Regions from separate parts of the Homo sapiens genome. Here all the other regions are linked to region 3. The links are contacts of gene promoters, found by promoter capture Hi-C in blood cells and fetal thymus (Javierre and others, 2016). All regions are on one chromosome and are shown on one strand. The core of a region is centred on a gene start or on the middle of the fragment in contact, and the rest is flanking DNA. Distances in the headings are between cores, read along the strand shown. Region 1 has its middle 16 kb from the start of RESF1. Region 2 has its middle 42 kb from the start of RESF1. Region 3 holds the start of H3-5 (H3.5 histone). Region 4 overlaps RESF1 (retroelement silencing factor 1).

Region 1 (4,730 bases), core at 707-3,206, 150 kb after region 3:
GTATAGTATTTTGGTCAGAAGCCACCCAGGTTGGCTACGCACAAGAAGGTCATCCACATACTAGAGTATACTCCCATTCTCCAATTGCAGATCCCTCAGATCCCTCTCTAAGACTCAGGCAAAGAAATGGGGGCTATCCCGGAAGCCCTGAGGGAGCACCATCCAAGTGTATTATTTTTCTCTGGTACTAGGATTTTCCCATTCAAAAGCAAAAAACCTATTGGGACTCTGGGGGCAGAGGAATGGAGAAGAAAGCATCTTTTAGGTCTAGGACTGAGAACTATTTTGCATCCCCTGGCACCTGAGCCAAGAGGGTATATATGGATCCACCACCAATGGATGGCCAGGGATAATGGCCTCATTAATTATTCTGAGATCCTGTGCTAGCTGGTATTCCCTCAAAGCCTTTAGAACAGGTAAGATGGGGATGTTGCAAGGAGAATTGAAGGGTTTTCAGAGCCCATGGGTAAGTAATATCTCAGCTCTGGATAGCTCAACTATTTTAACTATGAAGCCTTTTCTTGCTTCCAGCTTAATTGGTTTCTTATTTTTGTTTTTGTTTTTGAGACAGAGTCTCACTCTGTTGCCCAAGCTGGAGTGCAGTGGCACAATCTCGGCTTACTGCAACCTTCACCTCCTGGGTTCAAGCAATTCTTGTGCCTCAGCCTCCTGAGTAGCCGGGATTACAGGCATGTGCCACCATGCCCAGCTAATTTTTGTATTTTTAGTACAGATGGGGTTTTACTATGTTGGCCAGGCTGGTCTCAAACTCCTGACCTCAGGTGATCCACTTACCTCGGCCTCCCAAAGTGCTGGGATTACAGGCATGAGACTCCATGCCTGGCTGGGTATTTTTTTGTAGTTGTTGTTGTTGTTTTGAGACAGAGTCTCACTCTGTCACCAGGCTGGAATGCAGTGGCGTAATCTCGGCTCACTGCAACCTCCGCCTCCTCGGCTCAAGTGATTCTCCTGCCTCAGCCTCTTGAGTAGCTGGGACTACAGGTGTGCACCACCACACCCAGCTAAGTTTTGTGTTTTTAGTACAGATGGGGTTTCACCATGTTGGCCAGGATGGTCTCGATCTCTTGACCTCTTGATCCACCCACCTCCGCCTCCCAAAGTGCTTAGATTACAGCCATAAGCCACTGCGCCCAGCCCTGGCTTGGTATTATTTTCAATTGGGAAAATAGCTGGGGTCTTTAAGCTGTGTTTTGACTGGCACTTTTGTTTTAGCCTTCCCCGGTTTCCCAGTATACCATGCTAGCAGGTTAGCCTGTTTATTAATGTGGTCTGGGACATTGTATTTTTGACTATTAGCAATTTCACTGGGTGATGCTTAAATTGTAGTAGTGCCCCTATTTTAACCATAATATCTCTTCCCAACAGGAGGACTGGGCAGCTTGGTACTACTAGAAATTCCTGTTGGAAAAATTGTTTCTCAAATTGACAAATCAAAGGAGGAGTGAAGAAGCTTGTTTGTGGCCTTCCTTCCATTCCCATAACACTCATTGACTGGGAGGAAGGTTTTCCTGCACAAGCAGTAAGGACAGACTAATTTGCTCCTGTATCAAAAAGAAACTGAATTTGGGGGCCCATCACAGCCAGAGTTACCCGGGGCTCCTCATCTAATTCCTCCTTTTGTACTGCTAGAGCTTTGACTGACTGAGCCCCTCAGTGGGAACTGGGGCAGTCAATCCTCCAGTGCCAGGGGTCATAACCAGTACCCTCACGTTTTTGGCAAGGGCCTGGCATATGCTTAGTACAATTCTTTGCACAATGCCCAGCTTTCTTGCATTTGAAGCAAGAGCCCTTGCTGGCATTATCCTTATGGCTCTTCTGGTTTCCTTTGGACACTCTTTGGGCATTCACAGCATCGCCAATGATGGCTTCCATAATTTTGGCTTGCCATTTTTCTTTTCTTTTCTTTTTTTTTTTTTTTTTGAGACAGAGTTTCACTTTTCTTGCCCAGGCTGGAGTGCAATGGCACAATCTTGGCTCACCGCAACCTCCGCCTCCTGGGTTCAAGTGATTCTCCTGCCTCAGTCTCCTGAGTAGCTGAGATTACAGGCATGTGCCAGCAGGCTTAGCTAATTTTGTATTTTTAGTAGAGACGGGGTTACTCCATGTCGGTCAGGCTGGTCTTGAACTCCCAACCTCAGGTGATCCGCCTGCCTCGGCCTCCCAAAGTGCTGGAATTACGGGTGTGATCCACTGTGCCCAGCCTGCTTGCCGTTTTATTTTGCTCCCTTTTTCCTTCCACCAGGTCACGATTGTTATAAACCATAAAGGTGGTATCAAGAAGCTGATTTTGATTAGTTTGTGGCCCCATCTGTAGTTTTTGGAGCTTATGTCTAACGGCTGGGGCAGATTGGCTAATGAAATGCTGTGCCATTCCTATTTTGCCTTTGGGAGAAGAAGGGTCCAGATTAGTGTATTTGTTAAAAGCTTCCTCCAGCCTGCCATGAAACATGGCTGAATTTTCCTCCTTTCCCTGTGTAACCTCCCTTACTTTATCATAATTTACTGCTTTAGTTATTCCCTTTCTCATTCCTCCAAGGAGAGCCTAAAGAAATTTAGCCCAGTTGTTCATTCCCATGGGTGTGTTATAGTCCCAGTTAGGATCAGTAGTAGGGACTGTGTCTGGTCCTGGGTGATTGCCCTGAGGGTTTCGGGCAAATAAATTGTCTGCTTCCTGGCGGGCAGCCTCAAGGATGTGTTCCTTTTCAAAGGAGGTGTAACAGATTGCTAGAATGAATTGAGCGTCCCTCCATGAGAGATCAAAGGCTAAGGTCAAAGTCTGGAGCCCATCTATGAATTTCCTGGGATTCTCAGAACAGCTTCCTCACTTTCCCTTATGTTATTGTATATTAGTTATAGAGAAGGGGACCTGCACTAGGACTGGCCCCTTGGCTTCTGCTACTTCCTAAGGGGTAGCAGGGCTGGAGGGAGAGTTGAATGTGCTGTTCCCCTCCGAGTGTGAGGGGGACTGAGTAGGGTCCCCAGTGTTTGGGTTTTAGCCTCAGGAACACTTGGCAAGCGGCTATATGGAGGCAGTTGCTGTTCACCCTGAGAGACAGGTGGCCCTTGTAAAAGGGGGTCATCTATAATATCTAGTTCTGCCTTTGGACTTCCCTGTGGGGGAATTATTAGGTTTTGGTATAGGGCCATGAAGGCCTATACATATGGGATTTCTGACCATTTGCCCTGCCTTTTAAAAAACAGGTCTAATTGCAGGATGGTGTCATAATTAAGGCTACTATTGACCACCCATTGTTCCAGGCTGGGGAGCTTATAATGGGGACAAACAGTATTGGAGAAACAAAAATCATACGTTTTCTCTTTAGATTGTCAGGGTCAAATTGATTTCAATCCCAGAGGATGCAGCCAAGTGGGGAATCAGGTGGAATTGATGGAGAGTTGCCCATAGTGGTCTAGAAAAGAGAAGAGAACTTTGAAAAGTTGAGGGCTCATTAAGTAACCGAAATTTTAGCTGGGGTATCCCCCTGGAAAAATTCTGGCCCCTGATTGGGGTTCCCAGGGGGCATACCCTTAAGGGCCCCATCTTAGCCTGTCAGATGTCGCTAAACTCACATGGGTGCTAGCACCACTTTGGAATGGTTCCCTCCACCACTGATGGCCCACTATGAGCTTTCCCTCTTGTCCCTGGATGAAGGCCTTGACTTCTAGAATTAATTTGTAGTCAAACCTTTGGATTTTTTTTCCTATCCCACTTAAAACAATTATTTAACTCTCTACATTTAGGCAAGATTAAATTGTATATAAATTCCCTCTTATGAATCCACCCCCATGACTCACACAGACCATCTACAACATGCCCAAGCCCTCTGACTTGTCCTTAGCCAGTCGAGTAGGGAAGGAAAGAATTCAGCATAAGGAAAGAAGGTTTAAGTCACCTGAAACATGTATGAGTTAGCCCCGGGTGAGCTTCCACTGCCAATTACGTCACACATAGGGATCAGGGACTATAACCAGAAAAGATAGAAAAGAGTCCTTCCCCGTTCCAGGCAAGGCAGCCATCCCCATTCACTCCTTGGCCTTCAGGTTACACCAGAGACTGGCCCCAGCCAGTTGCCTTCAATTACCAACAGTCTACTAGAAAATGGCCGCTGAAAGACCGAAAAAGTAAAGGACTTGGTCTCAAGCCAGTTGGTGGCGGTCAGGCGCTTCCACATGGAAACCTTTCAGTTTCACTGGAGAGTGGCCCTGGCCAGAAACATGCTGTTGCCTCCATGCTTAGGCGCTGTCCACCAAGGATCCCAAATTGGAAAGGAAGAGAGAAAGAGAAAGAGGAAAAAGAGAAAAATAAATCCCAAACTTTGGGCTTACCTCCTGGCTGGCTCACCAAAATATGTTACCAGTTGAGGGTAGCTGTCCCAGTTCTTGGCATTTTAAACAAAGAATTGGACAAACACACAAAGCAAGACAGTGAAAGCAGAGATTTATTTTAAATGAAAGTACACTCCCCAGGGTTGGAGCCATCTCCAGCAAGTGGTTCACAGTATCGGTTACAGAATTTTCTGGGGTTTAAATACCCTCTAGAGGTTTCCCGTTGGTTCTATGCAAATAAAGTAGTGGCCAAGAACCAGTCTGATAGGATGCGGGAGGGGACCAATCAGAAGTACCTTCACGTTTCCTTTTTTTTTTTTTTTTTTTTTTTTGAGAGGGAGTTTTGCTCTTGTTGCCCAGGCTGGAGTGCAATGGTGACATCT
Region 2 (4,945 bases), core at 603-3,102, 210 kb after region 3:
GTAGGAATAAATTAACCTACATAAAAAGCATAACATACTAAACACAAACCAGTAACAGTCATTTATCATTGTCAAGTATTATGTACTGTATATATTTTTAAGTCAGATTTGTAAAAATATAAAACTGCCAATCTTTTCTCATTCTCCTGGTAAGTATTTTTCATAAACATTTATTTGGCTGGGTGCAGTGGCTCACGCCTGTAATCCCAACACTTTGGGAGGCCGAGCTGGGTGGATCACCTAAGGTCAGAGGTTTGAGACTAGCCTGGCCAAAATGGTGAAACCCTGTCCCTACTAAAAATACAAACATTGGTGGGCTCGGTGGCTCATGCCTGTAATCCCAGCACTTTGGGAGGCCAAGGCTGGTGAATCACGAGGTCAGGAGTTCGAGACCAGCCTGGCCAACATGGTGAAACCCCGTCTCTACTAAAAATACAAAAATTAGCTGGGCGTGGTGGCTTGGGCCTGTAGTCCCAGCTACTCAGGAGGCAGAGGTTGCAGTGAGTCAAGATCAAGCCACTGCACTCCAGCCTGGGCGACAGAGTGAGACTGTCTCAAAAAAACAAACAAAAATACAAAAGTTAACTGGGTGTGATGGCACGTGCCTGTAGTCTCAGCTGCTCAGGAGTCTGAGGCAGAGGTTGTAGTGAGCTGAGACTGCGCGCCACTGCACTCCAGCCTGGGAGACAGTGAGACTCAGTCTCAAAAAAAAAAAATTATATGAATGTAATGGGTTCATCATTTTAAAATGAAGTATCTTCAAAATTTGTTTCAAGTTCTCATGGAATCGATATTGATAAATATATCTTGGTATTCTTCAGTTTTTAAGGTTGTAAAAATAAATACTTTTTTGGAGATAGGGTCTCTCTCACCCAGGCTGGGGTGCAGTGGTGCGATCTTGGCTCACTGCAACCCCTGCCTCCTGGGCTTGGACAGTCCTCCCACTCTAGCCGCACAAGTAGCTGGGACCACAGGCCCATGCCACTGGCCTGCTAATTTTTGTATTTTGGGAGTTTTTTTGTAGATAATAGGGTTTCGCCATGTTGCCCAGGATGGTGAACTCCTGGGCTCAAGCAATCTGCCCACCTCAGCCTCTCGAAGTGTTGGGATTACAGGGGTGAGCCGCTATGCCCGGTCCCAAAGTCAGTCTCTAACCTAATCTCTGAAATGATGTGTCAATTTTGCTACTTTCTATTTGCTAGAAGTGAGTCACAGAATTCCAGCCCATACTCAAGGGGGTTATCCAAGGGCATAAATATTAGGAAATGTGCTTTTTAAAAGTTTCTGGAGGCTGGGTGGCGTGGCTTACGCCTGTAACCCCAGCACTTTGGGAGGCTGAGGTGGGTAGATTACCTGAGGTCAGGAGTTTTGAGACCAGCCTGGCCAACATGGCAAAACCTTGTGTCTACTAAAAATACAAAAATTAGCCAGGCACGGCTGGGCACGGTGGCTCAATCCCAGCACTTTGGGAGGCTGAGACAGGCGGATCATGAGGTCAGAAGATGGAGACCATCCTGGCTCATATGGTGAAACCCCGTCTCTACTAAAAAATGTAAAAAAAAAAAAAATTAGCCAGGTGTGGTGGTGGGCGCCTGTAGCCCCAGCTACTCGGGAGGCTGAGGCAGGAGAATGGTGTGAACCCGGGAGGCAGAGCTTGCAATGAGCCAAGATCGCGCCACTGCCCTCCAGCCTGGGCGAGAGAGTGAGACTCTGTCTCAAAAAAATAAAAATGTGTATCTCTGTCATTGGGATTCCTATAAGCTTGTGCCTAGACAGGATAGTTATTTTATCTTTAAGACCCTGTTAAAGCCTGCCTGAGGTCTTATCTGCATTCCCCTGTGGGCTGACTCAGCACCTGGTTGCCTTGTATTCTCCTGATTATGAATCTTTCAACCTCTAGGACATGGACCATTAACGTTTAGTATACTTGGCTGTAGCTACTTTAAGCTTAGATATCTGCCTTCGAATATTCTACCTTTTTTAAAATAAAATATAAATGTCTAGTGATTCTTTCGTTGTTGTTTTTATTTTTTGGAGACACGGTCTTGCTGTGCCACCCAGACTCGAGTGCAATGGTGTGGTCACAGCTCACTGCAGCCTTGACCTTCTGGGCTCAAGTGATCCTCCCACCTCAGCCTCCTGAGTAGCTGGGACTGCAGGCGTGCACCACCATCCTTGGATAATTTTTTATTTTTTAGAGAAATGAGGTCTCCCTGTGTTGCCCAGTCTGGTCAGGCTCAAGCAATCCTCCCATGTCAGCTTCCCAAAGTGCTGGATTACAAGCATAAGCCACCATGCCTGGCTGTATCCTGCTTTCTGTTATAATAGAGTGGATTTTGTCATCTTGATAGCCCACACAACGTTGGTCCGTTTCTTTGATGATATTATGCTAATTGGACCTGACAAGCAGAAAATAATAAACATCCTACAAGACTTAATAAAACACATGCATGACGGGATGGGAAGGAAATCTTGAATAAAAATTCATGATTGACCACATTCGTAAGGTTTTTAGGGTCTGATTGTAGTCTTGTGTATATTGTACCATCTACCACAAAGAGAAATGTTTGATGAGCCTGTGTGAAGTTTGGAGGGAACATACACCATCTATGGACATGCCACCTTATGGACGTGTCACCCTAAGCAATTTATCAGGTAACACACACACAGCTCTAATTTCTTTTTTTTTTGAGATGGAGTCTCGCTCTCTCGCCCAGGCTGGAGTGCAGTGGCCCCATCTCAGCTCACTGCAAGCTCCGCCTCCTGGGTTCACGCCATTCTCCTGCCTTGGCCTCCTGAGTAGCTGGGGCTACAGGCACCCGCCACCACACCCAGCTAATTTTTTTGTATTTTTTAGTAGAGACGGGGTTTCACCATGTTAGCCAGGATGGTCTCGACCTCCTGAGTTCGTGATCTGCCCGCCTCGGCCTCCCAAAGTGCTGGGATTACAGGTGTGAGCCACCGCACCCGGCCCACACAGCTCTAATTTTATGTGAGGCCTCAAGCAAGCAAAGGCTCCACAGCAGGACCAGGCTGTGGTGCAAGCTGCCCTGCCCCTTGGGCCTAATGGCCCAGCAGGCCCAATGGTACAGGGAATTTCTACTGTGTGTGAAACCTCTTGCTTTTAGGAGAATCCTAGTAAACCCCCTATGACCTTTTCTGACAAGTACATTCCATTTGAACACAAATTGTAAAACCTGAACTGTTGATGAATTTGATGTCATCTGATTCCAAAAACCATAAAATTTGACTCATGCAGCAGCATTTCATTGTTAAATGAAAATGTATATGTAAGACTAGCCCAAGCAGTTCCTGAGGACACAATTAAAACATACAAGCGGCCGGGCACGGTGGCTCACGCCTGTAATCCCAGCACTTTGGGAGGCTGAGGTGGGCGGATCACGAGGTCAGGAGATGGAGACCACCCTGGCTAACCCAGTGAAACCCTGTCTCTACTAAAACTACAAAAAAATTAGCCGGGCATGGTGGCGGGCGCCTGTAGTCCCAGCTACTCGGGAGGCTGAGGCAGGAGAATGGCGTGAACCTGGGAGGCGGAGGTGGCAGTGAGCCGAGATCGTGCCACTGCACTCCAGCGTGGGCGACACAGCAAGACTCCATCTCAAAAAAAAAAAAAAAAAAAAAATCAAGTAGCTTGCTCGGGGTTCCATAACACCTCTTCCTTCTGTTTCTCTGGCTTTCCCTCAGTCCACATATAAGGCTTCATGAGAGAAGACACGAATGGATATAAACCAATGGGAATAAACCAAGACAAGTCCTGGTTTATGAATTGGTCTGCACAGTATGCTGGCTCCAGCTGGAAGTATTACATAGCCTCACTTAGAGATGACCCTAAGAGACAGTGATAAAGCCAACCTCATATCTTGCTACCAGAAGCACATGAGAATAATTCTTTTAAGAGGCTTTAAAATCCCAGCTACTCAGGAGGGTGAAGTGGGAGGATCCCTTGAGCATCGGAGCTTGAGACCAGCCTGGACAACATAGTAGGACACTGCCTCAATAAAAAATTAAGTAAATAAATAGATAGCTTTTGAGTTATCTATACTGTGATATAATACACCACACCCTTTACAAGAGCAAATTCTGGGGCATGATTAAATGAAAAGCAAAGGTAGTACTTCATAGCATCTGCAAACTGGCATAGTGCAGACAGGCAAAAAGCAATGGTAAATAACTACTGGAACATATGTAGAAAATGTCCTGTTTGGCATCTACTGCAGAGTAGGCTCTCAATCAGATGGGTAAGATAGCTAGTCCTATGGATGTCAGCCTTTTTCCCCAGCCACCCTGGTGCTTAATAGGCCCATTTATAAAGTGCCATGGCAACAAGAAAGGAGGTCTGCATGGACTTCTCACTGAGGCTTCTCTGCCCATGCACCAAGAGTCAAGGCTATGCTGGGCCCCTGACTGATCACACCATTCTCCAGGGAACCAATGAGCCTCTTGGTGGTAGATTGATACATTGGACCCTTTCTACACAGAAGGAGAAGCAATTTGTGCCTTTGGGAATAGAAACATTCCAAATATGAATTTGCCTGCCAGAAATGGTCCTGCTGGCACTAAGCAGAAGGCCTATTCATTGCTGTGATATTCCATACAAATCACTAAGCAACCTGTCTACAGTGAAGGACACGATGAGAGAGAATTACACTGATACAATTTACTAGCACTACCACAAGCCCCAAGGACCCAGAAGCATCTGACTTGACAAAATGGCAGAATGCCTGCTAACAGCTTAGTTACTACATTAGCTGGAGAAAATTAGCTGGAGGATTAGAAGGCTGTCTTACAGAATGAATATATGACTTAAGCCAGTAGCTAATATTTGGTGACGTCTCCCGCATAGCCAAATACCGCATGAACCGAATAACCAAGGGGTGGAGGTTTGGAATGGCCCCTTTCACTTTTTCCCTTTTTATTTTAATTT
Region 3 (4,841 bases), core at 2,307-4,806:
CATCTCCTGACCTCATGATCTGCCTGCCTCGGCCTCCCAAAGTGCCGGGATTACAGGCGTGAGCCACCACACCCGGTCAAAAGATTATTTTTTAATCTGAAATTATTTCCAAGGTAAATATTTTTCTTCCAGGTATTTTCCTAAGGACCCAAGTTCAAAACCTTGCATTACTCTGGTCTCCCTTTCTTTTTTTTTTTTTTTTGTCTTATGAGAAATCAAGTCTGAATTGATTTGGTTCAGAATCAAACCTGAATCTGATCACTAAATTCTACTAATTCTTTTCTTTCTATGTCTATCCACATAGTTCTGGCCCGGCCAGGCCCCTGTTTCCTCAGCCCAGATTATTGAAGTACTTTTCTGACTTTTTTATTTCTTTGTAGCCTCTTTTCTCTATGGTAATCTATTTTACATATCTCTTTGCATCATTACCTTGACAAAAATATTGACTGCCTCTACCTTATATGGCAGAGGTCCCAAACTTGAGCTCCAAGGCTGAACATAGTCTGCAAATTTGTTTTTCTACAACTCCACAGTGCTCTGACCATTATTTTTAAATTTGCTGGAATCCTTTCAAAGGGCCCCAGGTTTCACTGATTTGTGTTACCTGCCTGGCGTCTAGGCTTCCAGGTATGGCTGAGTAGACTTTGCTTTTTTTTTTTTTTTTTTTTCTGAGACAGAGTCTTGCTCTGTCTCCCAGGCTGGAGTGCAATGGCACGATCTCGGCTCACTGCAACCTCCACCTCCTGGGTTCAAACGATTCTCCTGCCTCAGCCTCCTGAGTAGCTGGGATGACAGGCGCATGCCACCACGCCCAGCTAATTTTTGTATTTTAGTAGAGATGGGGTTTCACCATGTTGGCCAGGCTGGTCTCGAACTCCTGACCTTGTGATCTGCCTGCCTCGGCCTCCCAAAGTGCTGGGATTGCAGGCGAGAGCCACCACGTCCAGCCGACTTTGCATTTTATAACTCCAGAGGGCACTGTGCACATAACATAAAAAGTTGTGCAGTGCACAGCCTATACAATCTGCACAACTCTACCTGGTGGCCCTATGGGAGCCTATGGCCATTTAGTGTGAACTCTAGTCTGTAAAACGAATATCATGCCCACTATATCGACTAATCAAGCCCATCCTGTACCATAGTCTGGAAAAGGCTGACATTCCTAAAAGCTTTGCACTCTAAGATAAGCCACGAAAACCAGAAATATTTCAAAAGCTTTGAATTCCAAGATAAGCCGTGAAGTTATTTTTTATGCAAAAGACAGAAACATACTGTTTTTCTTTTTATCAAGACTGACCCCAAAGTTATCCAATCAGAATTGTTGACTAATATATAACAATCTGAGCTATCTCCTGACTTTGTGATTTTTTTTTTTTTTAGACAGTCTTGCTCTTGACACCCAGGCTGGAGTGCAATGGTGCGATTTCGGCTCACTGCAACCTCCACTTCCTGGGTTCAGGCAATTCTCCTGCCTCAGCCTTGACAGTAGCTGGGATTACAGGCGCCCACCACCACATCCAGCTAATTTTTGTATTTTTAATAGAGACGGGATTTCACCATGTTATAGTTCAAATACTTTTTTAAAAATTAGATGTGCTAGTTCTGTACTAACTTGTCTTTTTTTGCAAGTTAAAATGCTAGTCAGTTCTCAAATTTGTCTGTGAATTTTGCAGGATAGAGTATAAAATTCCTTAAATCCTAATTCCAAGCTCTTTACAATGTGGGCCCTACATCCCTAAAGTTTTCTCCTTTGCGTAAATACTACACTTGAGACAAACTAATTGTTTTCCCCCAACATAAACTTTATAGTTCTCTTCTGTTGCATTTCTACTCTCCAATATTTCTGATTCTTTTCCTCTCTTTTTTTTTTTTTGGATAAACAAGTTTATTTGTAAATTTAGTCAACATACATAATTGACCTAAAAACTTCAATAAGATAAATTTTAAAACCACTTGGAAGGCCATCTCTATAAAAATGATTTTCCCAGGACAGTAACCAGATGTAACCTAACCTAACACCATCTTAACCGGCAGAGGTTCAGTGGGCTAGAGCTTTGTGCTCCTCCCCTACACCAAGTTTTTATAATACAAATGCCACAAGAAAAAGAACTTCAGTACTGTTTCCTCTTAGCAGAGGAGAAAACTCAACCTAGTTATGAGACCAACCACACAACACAATGAAAAGCTGCACTAGTTCAGAATATTAGTTAACAGATGATGCTGGTGTGAATAACTCATATTTTTTTCTAGAGCCCTTATAAATAAAATCCCCCAGTTAGTGTTTCCATTATCAGCTAGAGGGTTAGTTAACATGTGGTAGAATGAGGATTTATGCAAGGTATAAATGCACATAGCATTTTACTACTATGAGAACAAGTGCAGTCAGAAGAAAACCAACTGGACTCTAAATTACACACACCTTAATGACAAGACTCCCCACCACTTGTGAATGTAAAACATTTAATTTGAAAATGTTGACACTACAATATATAAAATAGCTATTATAAATGCACATATTGTATTCTATAGCTGCCAGGTTTAATTTTTTTTTTTTAAAGGAAACTATAAGTTACACTGTGGTTAAGGTTTGTATCTTCACCCTTGAAAAAGCCTACATTCTATCACAGTGATGTATGGTCAGACTTAACAGCCCCAATTGTTAAACACTTGGATCAAGTCATAACCAGTTTTATTGCAAAAGGACCCTGTTGTACACATTTATCAATTCTAGTACCTTAATAGCTACCCAACAAGTCATTAACATACAGAAACATGCATCATGAGAAGCAAGAAATATCACGCATCCGTTTTGCATATTAACAACTTGTCACTCCTGAGCAACAGTGCTGACATCACTGAGGTCTGTAAACAGTCACTTTTCGCATTCATCCTGAGTGAAAGATGGAATGACTTAAGTACAAATGCAACATATAAACAATTTCTTACAAAAAAAGTCACCAATTAAACCAAAGTATTTTACAGAATTTACTACAAAATGCCATAAAAACTGCCTTCACTTAAGCTCTCTCTCCCCGTATCCGGCGAGCCAACTGGATGTCTTTGGGCATGATGGTGACTCTCTTAGCGTGGATGGCACACAGGTTAGTATCTTCCAACAGACCCACCAGGTACGCTTCGCTAGCCTCCTGCAGCGCACCGACGGCTGCGCTCTGAAACCTCAGGTCAGTGTTGAAATCCTGCGCGATCTCCCTCACCAACCTCTGGAAGGGCAGCTTCCGGATGAGCAGCTCGGTCGACTTCTGATAACGACGAATCTCTCGAAGCGCCACGGTCCCAGGCCTGTAGCGATGAGGCTTCACCCCGCAGGTAGAGGGGGTGCTTTTCCTGGCAGCTTTCGTGGCCAGCTGTTTGCGGGGGGCTTTCCCACCGGTGGATTTACGAGCAGTCTGCTTGGTTCGGGCCATTTTCTTTCACCCAACGCCGAAGTTTTAGGCCACTTCTCCGACCTCCGCGCTGCTTCCGCTGCCCGAGGAAGAGCCGCAGTCGCGAGCGAAGAACCGACACTGGTCCAACGAACGACCAAACCGCTCTGCGCCCTCCTCTCTTTTATCTGCATCCCTTCCATTCTTCAAAGCCCATTTCGGTGTTTCGTTTTTTGTTGTTGTTTTGTTTTTTGAGACGGAGTCTCGCTTTGTTGCCCAGGCTGGAGTGCAGTGGCGTGATTTCGGTTCACTACAACCTCCACCTCCCAGGTTCGAGCGATTCTCCTGCCTCAGCCTCCAGAGTAGCTGGGATTACAGGCGCCTGCCACCACACCTGGTTAATTTTTGTATTTTTAGTAGAGACGGAGTTTCACCATGTTGGCCAGGCTGGTCTCAAACTCCTGACCTCAGGTGATCCGCCCGCCGCAGCCTCCCAAATTACTGGGATTACAGGTGTGAGCCACTGCACCCGGCCTTTCAAAGCTCATTTCAATCCCACCTCCGTCACAAAGCATTCTTCAGCCACCTTCGTTTTCATCCTTTTTTTCTCTGCACTCTTTCTACCCTTATCATTTACTTGACACTATGCAAATTCTACATGTATATGTATTTCTCATTTATTTTTAGTAATTATCTTTTTTCTTATTATAAAAGTAATACTTGTCCAATTTAAAATACAAAAAATATAGAGAAACAAACTGAAATGTGGAATCACATGTGATAAACACACACACAAGTTGGCTGAATATCTGTTACTCTTGGAATGGGGAAAGAATCATCTAGTCATCTGCCAAGAGGTATAAACCTAAAGTTTAGAAACAGAAATCTGACTTTTAAATGTTACAGTTCTATATGATATTTGTTCCATGGAGTAAATCATAAAGTTTCTCTCTCTCTCTCTCTTTTTTTTTTTTTTTTTTGTTTTTTGGGAGATGGAGTTTCACTGTCCTCACCCAGGCTGGAGTGCAATGGCACGATCTCGTCTCGCTGAAACCTCCACCTCCCAGGTTCAAGCAATTCTCCTGTCTCAGCCTCCCAAGTAGCTGGGATTACAGGTGCCTGCCACCACACCTGGCTAATTTTTGTATTTTTAGTAGAGACGGGGGTTTTACCATTTTCGCCAGGCTGGTCTCGAACTCCTGACGTGAAGTGATCCACCCACTTCAGCCTCCCAAAGTGCTGGGATTACAGGAGTGAGCCACCGTGCCTGGCCACAAAGTATCTCTTTTGTCAGGTGAGTTTTTTAACTTCTAGAAATATGCCACAAAGTGAGCCAGGTGTGGTGGCTCCGCCTGTAATGGTAGCACTGGGAGGCCGAGGCAGGTGGATCACGAGGTCAGGAGTTTGAGACGAGCCTGGCCAACATGGCAAAACCTGTCTCTACTAAAAATACAAAAA
Region 4 (5,067 bases), core at 1,203-3,702, 190 kb after region 3:
TCTATTGCTCCTCTTCTTCCCAAATTAAAGATGAGGCTGCTCTGAAGATTCAGTAATTAGGATGGACAGTCAGCTACTAATTTTCTTAGATATTCTATCTAGGCAAAACAGCATTTTAATAAAATATCTTTATTTCTTACAGATTCCTGACATTCAGACAACTGACTTGTAACTGACTTATAACTGACTTGTAATACACTGCTACTATATCAAACCGACAATGAATTGGAATGAAAAACCAAAGAGTGCTACATTACCACCACTGTATCCTAAAAGCCAGCCACCTTTTTTGCACCAGTCTTTAATAAACCAAATTACCACAACATCTCAGAGTTCTTTCAGCTATCCTGGAAGTAACCAAGAAGCATGCATGTATCCCGGTAATTCAAATCCAATTTCACAGCCACTGCTGAATATCCAAAATTATCCTCAACAAATTTCTGTTTCTGATATGCATAATGGGACAGTTGTGGCCTCACACACTTCAGTAGAAAGAATAACATATGCAAATGTTAATGGACCCAAACAACTAACTCACAATTTGCAGATGTCTTCAGGAGTTACCCAAAACGTATGGTTGAACTCACCAATGAGGAATCCTGTGCATTCTCATATAGGGGCAACTGTATCTCATCAAACTGATTTTGGAGCTAACGTACCCAATATGCCGGCACTACAGAGTCAACTGATAACATCAGATACCTATTCTATGCAAATGCAGATGATCCCTTCTAATTCTACACGACTTCCTGTAGCTTACCAAGGAAATCAGGGACTTAACCAGTCTTTTTCAGAGCAACAGGTTGATTGGACACAACAGTGTATATCTAAGGGACTGACTTACCCAGATTACAGACCACCTCCAAAGCTATACCGTTACTCACCACAAAGCTTTTTACCAGATTCTACCATTCAAAAACAAAACTTTATACCACATACATCATTGCAAGTTAAAAATAGTCAGCTTCTAAATTCTGTATTAACTTTACCATCAAGGCAGACCTCAGCTGTACCATCACAGCAGTATGCCACGCAAACTGACAAAAGACCTCCTCCTCCTCCTTACAACTGTAGATATGGAAGCCAGCCTTTGCAAAGTACTCAGCATATTACTAAACACTTGTCTATGGAAGTTCCTCAGAGTCGAGAAATGCTGTCATCTGAAATAAGGACCAGCTTTCAACAGCAGTGGCAAAACCCTAATGAAAATGTCAGCACAATTGGAAATTTCACTAACTTGAAAGTAAATACCAACAGCAAACAGCCTTTTAACAGTCCCATTAGATCTTCTGTGGATGGTGTTCAGACTCTTGCTCAAACTAATGAAGAGAAAATAATGGATTCTTGCAATCCAACTTCAAATCAAGTACTGGACACAAGTGTTGCAAAAGAAAAGCTAGTAAGGGATATTAAAACATTAGTAGAGATAAAACAGAAGTTTTCAGAACTTGCAAGGAAAATTAAAATCAATAAAGATCTTTTGATGGCAGCAGGTTGTATTAAAATGACTAATACTTCTTATAGTGAACCAGCTCAGAATTCTAAATTGTCTCTAAAACAAACTGCCAAAATCCAGTCTGGACCCCAGATAACTCCAGTAATGCCAGAGAATGCAGAGAGACAAACACCAACAGTAGTGGAATCTGCAGAAACAAATAAGACTCAATGTATGTTGAATTCTGACATTCAGGAAGTCAATTGCAGAAGGTTTAACCAAGTTGATTCTGTTTTACCAAATCCTGTCTATTCTGAAAAGCGGCCAATGCCAGACTCATCTCATGATGTGAAAGTTCTCACTTCAAAGACATCAGCTGTTGAGATGACCCAGGCAGTATTGAATACTCAGCTTTCATCAGAAAATGTTACCAAAGTTGAGCAAAATTCACCAGCAGTTTGTGAAACAATTTCTGTTCCCAAGTCCATGTCCACTGAGGAATATAAATCAAAAATTCAAAATGAAAATATGCTACTTCTCGCTTTGCTTTCACAGGCACGTAAGACTCAGAAGACAGTATTAAAAGATGCTAATCAAACTATTCAGGATTCTAAACCAGACAGTTGTGAAATGAATCCAAATACCCAAATGACTGGTAACCAACTGAATTTGAAGAACATGGAAACTCCAAGTACTTCTAATGTAAGTGGCAGGGTTTTGGACAACTCCTTTTGCAGTGGACAAGAATCCTCAACAAAAGGAATGCCTGCTAAAAGTGACAGTAGCTGTTCCATGGAAGTGCTAGCAACCTGTCTTTCCCTGTGGAAAAAGCAACCTTCAGATACTGCAAAAGAAAAGGAGTGTGATAAACTCAGAACAAACACAACAGCAGTTGGAATTTCAAAGCCTGCTAACATCCACGTTAAGAGTCCTTGTTCAGTTGTGGGAAATTCAAATTCTCAGAATAAAATAAGTAATCCCTCACAGCAGACAGCTTTGTCGATGGTAATGCACAATTATGAGTCTTCAGGTATAAATATAACAAAGGGAACAGAACTTCAGATAGCTGTAGTGTCACCGTTAGTTCTGTCAGAGGTCAAAACATTGTCTGTCAAAGGAATAACACCTGCAGTGTTACCTGAAACAGTGTATCCCGTTATTAAAGAAGGCAGTGTTTGTAGTTTACAAAATCAATTGGCAGAAAATGCAAAGGCAACTGCTGCTTTGAAAGTTGATGTTAGTGGACCAGTAGCAAGTACAGCAACATCAACCAAGATTTTTCCACTAACTCAGAAGGAAAAGCAGAATGAGTCAACTAATGGTAATTCAGAAGTCACACCTAATGTCAATCAAGGAAAGCATAACAAATTAGAGTCAGCTATCCATTCTCCTATGAACGATCAGCAAATCTCACAGGAGTCAAGGAATAGTACTGTTGTGAGTAGTGATACATTACAGATTGACAATATTTGTTCTCTGGTTGAAGGTGATACCTCTTACAATTCCCAAATAGCAAAGATATTCAGCTCTCTTCCCTTGAAAATGGTTGAGCCACAGAAACCTTCTCTACCCAATCAGCAAGGGATTGGCAGCAGAGAACCAGAAAAACAATTAGATAATACCACTGAAAATAAAGACTTTGGTTTTCAAAAAGATAAACCTGTACAGTGCACAGATGTTTCACATAAAATATGTGATCAGTCAAAGTCAGAGCCACCCTTAGAGTCATCTTTTAACAATCTTGAAACAAACAGAGTTATTCTAGAGAAAAGTAGTTTGGAGCATGCCACTGAAAAAAGCACAGCTAACGATACGTGCTCGTCAGCTGCTATTCAGGAGGATATTTACCCTCAGGAAATAGATGCATCCAGCAACTATACTCCCCAAGATCCTGCAAGAAATGAAATCCACAGTGATAAGGCACCTGTCTTATACCTACATGACCAGCTGTCAGAACTTCTAAAAGAGTTTCCTTATGGCATTGAGGCTGTGAATACACGTGAAGGTTCTGTGGGCCAGCAAACTACATACCAGACCTCAGAAGATCAAACTGCTGATAAAACCAGTTCTGACTCCAAAGACCCAGCAGATCAAATACAAATTACAATATTAAGCTCAGAGCAAATGAAAGAAATATTTCCTGAACAGGATGATCAACCCTATGTAGTAGACAAGTTGGCAGAACCTCAGAAAGAAGAGCCCATCACAGAAGTAGTTAGCCAGTGTGACCTGCAGGCACCTGCAGCTGGACAAAGTCGTGATTCTGTGATACTGGACTCTGAGAAAGATGATATCCACTGCTGTGCATTGGGCTGGCTCTCCATGGTTTACGAAGGAGTACCCCAGTGTCAGTGTAATTCCATCAAGAACTCATCTTCAGAGGAAGAGAAACAAAAAGAGCAGTGTTCTCCTTTGGATACCAACAGTTGTAAACAAGGAGAGAGAACTTCTGATAGAGATGTCACTGTTGTTCAATTTAAGAGCCTTGTAAATAATCCAAAGACTCCTCCAGATGGGAAAAGTCATTTTCCTGAACTACAAGACGACAGTAGAAAAGATACACCCAAAACAAAACATAAAAGCTTACCAAGGACAGAACAAGAATTAGTTGCTGGTCAGTTTTCATCTAAATGTGATAAACTAAATCCCTTGCAAAATCACAAAAGAAAAAAATTGAGGTTTCACGAGGTAACCTTTCACTCCAGTAATAAAATGACAGCATCTTATGAACAAGCTTCTCAGGAAACCCGACAGAAGAAACATGTAACACAGAACTCACGTCCACTAAAAACAAAAACAGCTTTTTTGCCAAATAAAGATGTGTATAAGAAGCATAGTTCTTTGGGACAGTCATTATCACCAGAAAAGATAAAATTGAAACTCAAATCAGTTAGCTTCAAACAAAAACGAAAGTTAGACCAAGGGAACGTATTAGATATGGAAGTAAAGAAAAAGAAACATGATAAACAAGAACAGAAAGGAAGTGTGGGAGCTACATTCAAATTAGGTGACTCTTTGTCAAACCCAAACGAAAGAGCCATTGTTAAAGAAAAGATGGTATCAAATACTAAGTCTGTAGACACGAAAGCGAGTTCATCTAAATTTAGTAGAATTCTAACTCCTAAGGAGTATTTACAAAGGCAGAAGCATAAAGAAGCTCTGAGTAATAAAGCATCGAAGAAAATCTGTGTGAAAAACGTGCCATGTGATTCTGAACATATGAGACCAAGTAAACTTGCCGTGCAGGTTGAAAGTTGTGGGAAATCAAATGAGAAACACAGCAGCGGCGTGCAGACCTCTAAAGAATCATTAAATGGCTTGACAAGCCATGGTAAAAACCTCAAAATCCACCATTCTCAGGAGTCTAAAACATACAACATTCTAAGGAATGTTAAAGAAAAAGTTGGTGGGAAGCAGCCTGATAAAATATGGATTGATAAGACTAAATTAGACAAATTAACCAATATAAGCAACGAAGCTCAATTCAGCCAAATGCCTCCCCAAGTAAAGGATCAAAAGAAATTATATCTGAATAGAGTTGGGTTTAAATGCACTGAACGTGAAAGCATTTCTCTCACCAAATTAGAAAGTTCACCCAGGAAGCTTCATAAAGATAAGAGACAGGAAAATAA

Evidence for each region. The method cuts DNA at HindIII sites, captures the fragments that hold promoters and counts their contacts. A CHiCAGO score of 5 or more calls a contact.
Region 1: a contact is called between a fragment that was not itself captured here and the fragment with the promoter of H3-5 in region 3, in 4 of 17 cell types (non-activated CD4 T cells, activated CD4 T cells, naive CD8 T cells and 1 more). The highest score is 8.3, in non-activated CD4 T cells.
Region 2: a contact is called between a fragment that was not itself captured here and the fragment with the promoter of H3-5 in region 3, in 4 of 17 cell types (non-activated CD4 T cells, total CD8 T cells, activated CD4 T cells and 1 more). The highest score is 8.5, in non-activated CD4 T cells.
Region 4: a contact is called between a fragment that was not itself captured here and the fragment with the promoter of H3-5 in region 3, in 4 of 17 cell types (total B cells, non-activated CD4 T cells, activated CD4 T cells and 1 more). The highest score is 6.4, in total B cells.

What each region holds. Positions count from the first base shown.
Region 1 is chr12:31,940,631-31,945,360 of GRCh38, forward strand. No RefSeq gene overlaps it. Among named protein-coding and RNA genes, the nearest start is that of RESF1, 16 kb to the right of the region's middle. The HindIII fragment of the contact is 974 bases long and covers 1,470-2,443 here.
Region 2 is chr12:31,998,698-32,003,642 of GRCh38, forward strand. No RefSeq gene overlaps it. Among named protein-coding and RNA genes, the nearest start is that of RESF1, 42 kb to the left of the region's middle. The HindIII fragment of the contact is 186 bases long and covers 1,760-1,945 here.
Region 3 is chr12:31,788,742-31,793,582 of GRCh38, forward strand. It overlaps H3-5 (H3.5 histone), which reads right to left and starts at 3,557. Exons shown (of 1, transcript NM_001013699.3): 1 at 2,444-3,557. The coding sequence starts at 3,425. The coding sequence ends at 3,018. The HindIII fragment of the contact is 13,966 bases long and covers 1,214-4,841 here.
Region 4 is chr12:31,980,736-31,985,802 of GRCh38, forward strand. RESF1 (retroelement silencing factor 1) reads left to right here. Exons shown (of 6, transcript NM_018169.4): 4 at 143-5,067. The coding sequence starts at 221. Among named protein-coding and RNA genes, the nearest start is that of RESF1, 24 kb to the left of the region's middle. The HindIII fragment of the contact is 3,126 bases long and covers 890-4,015 here.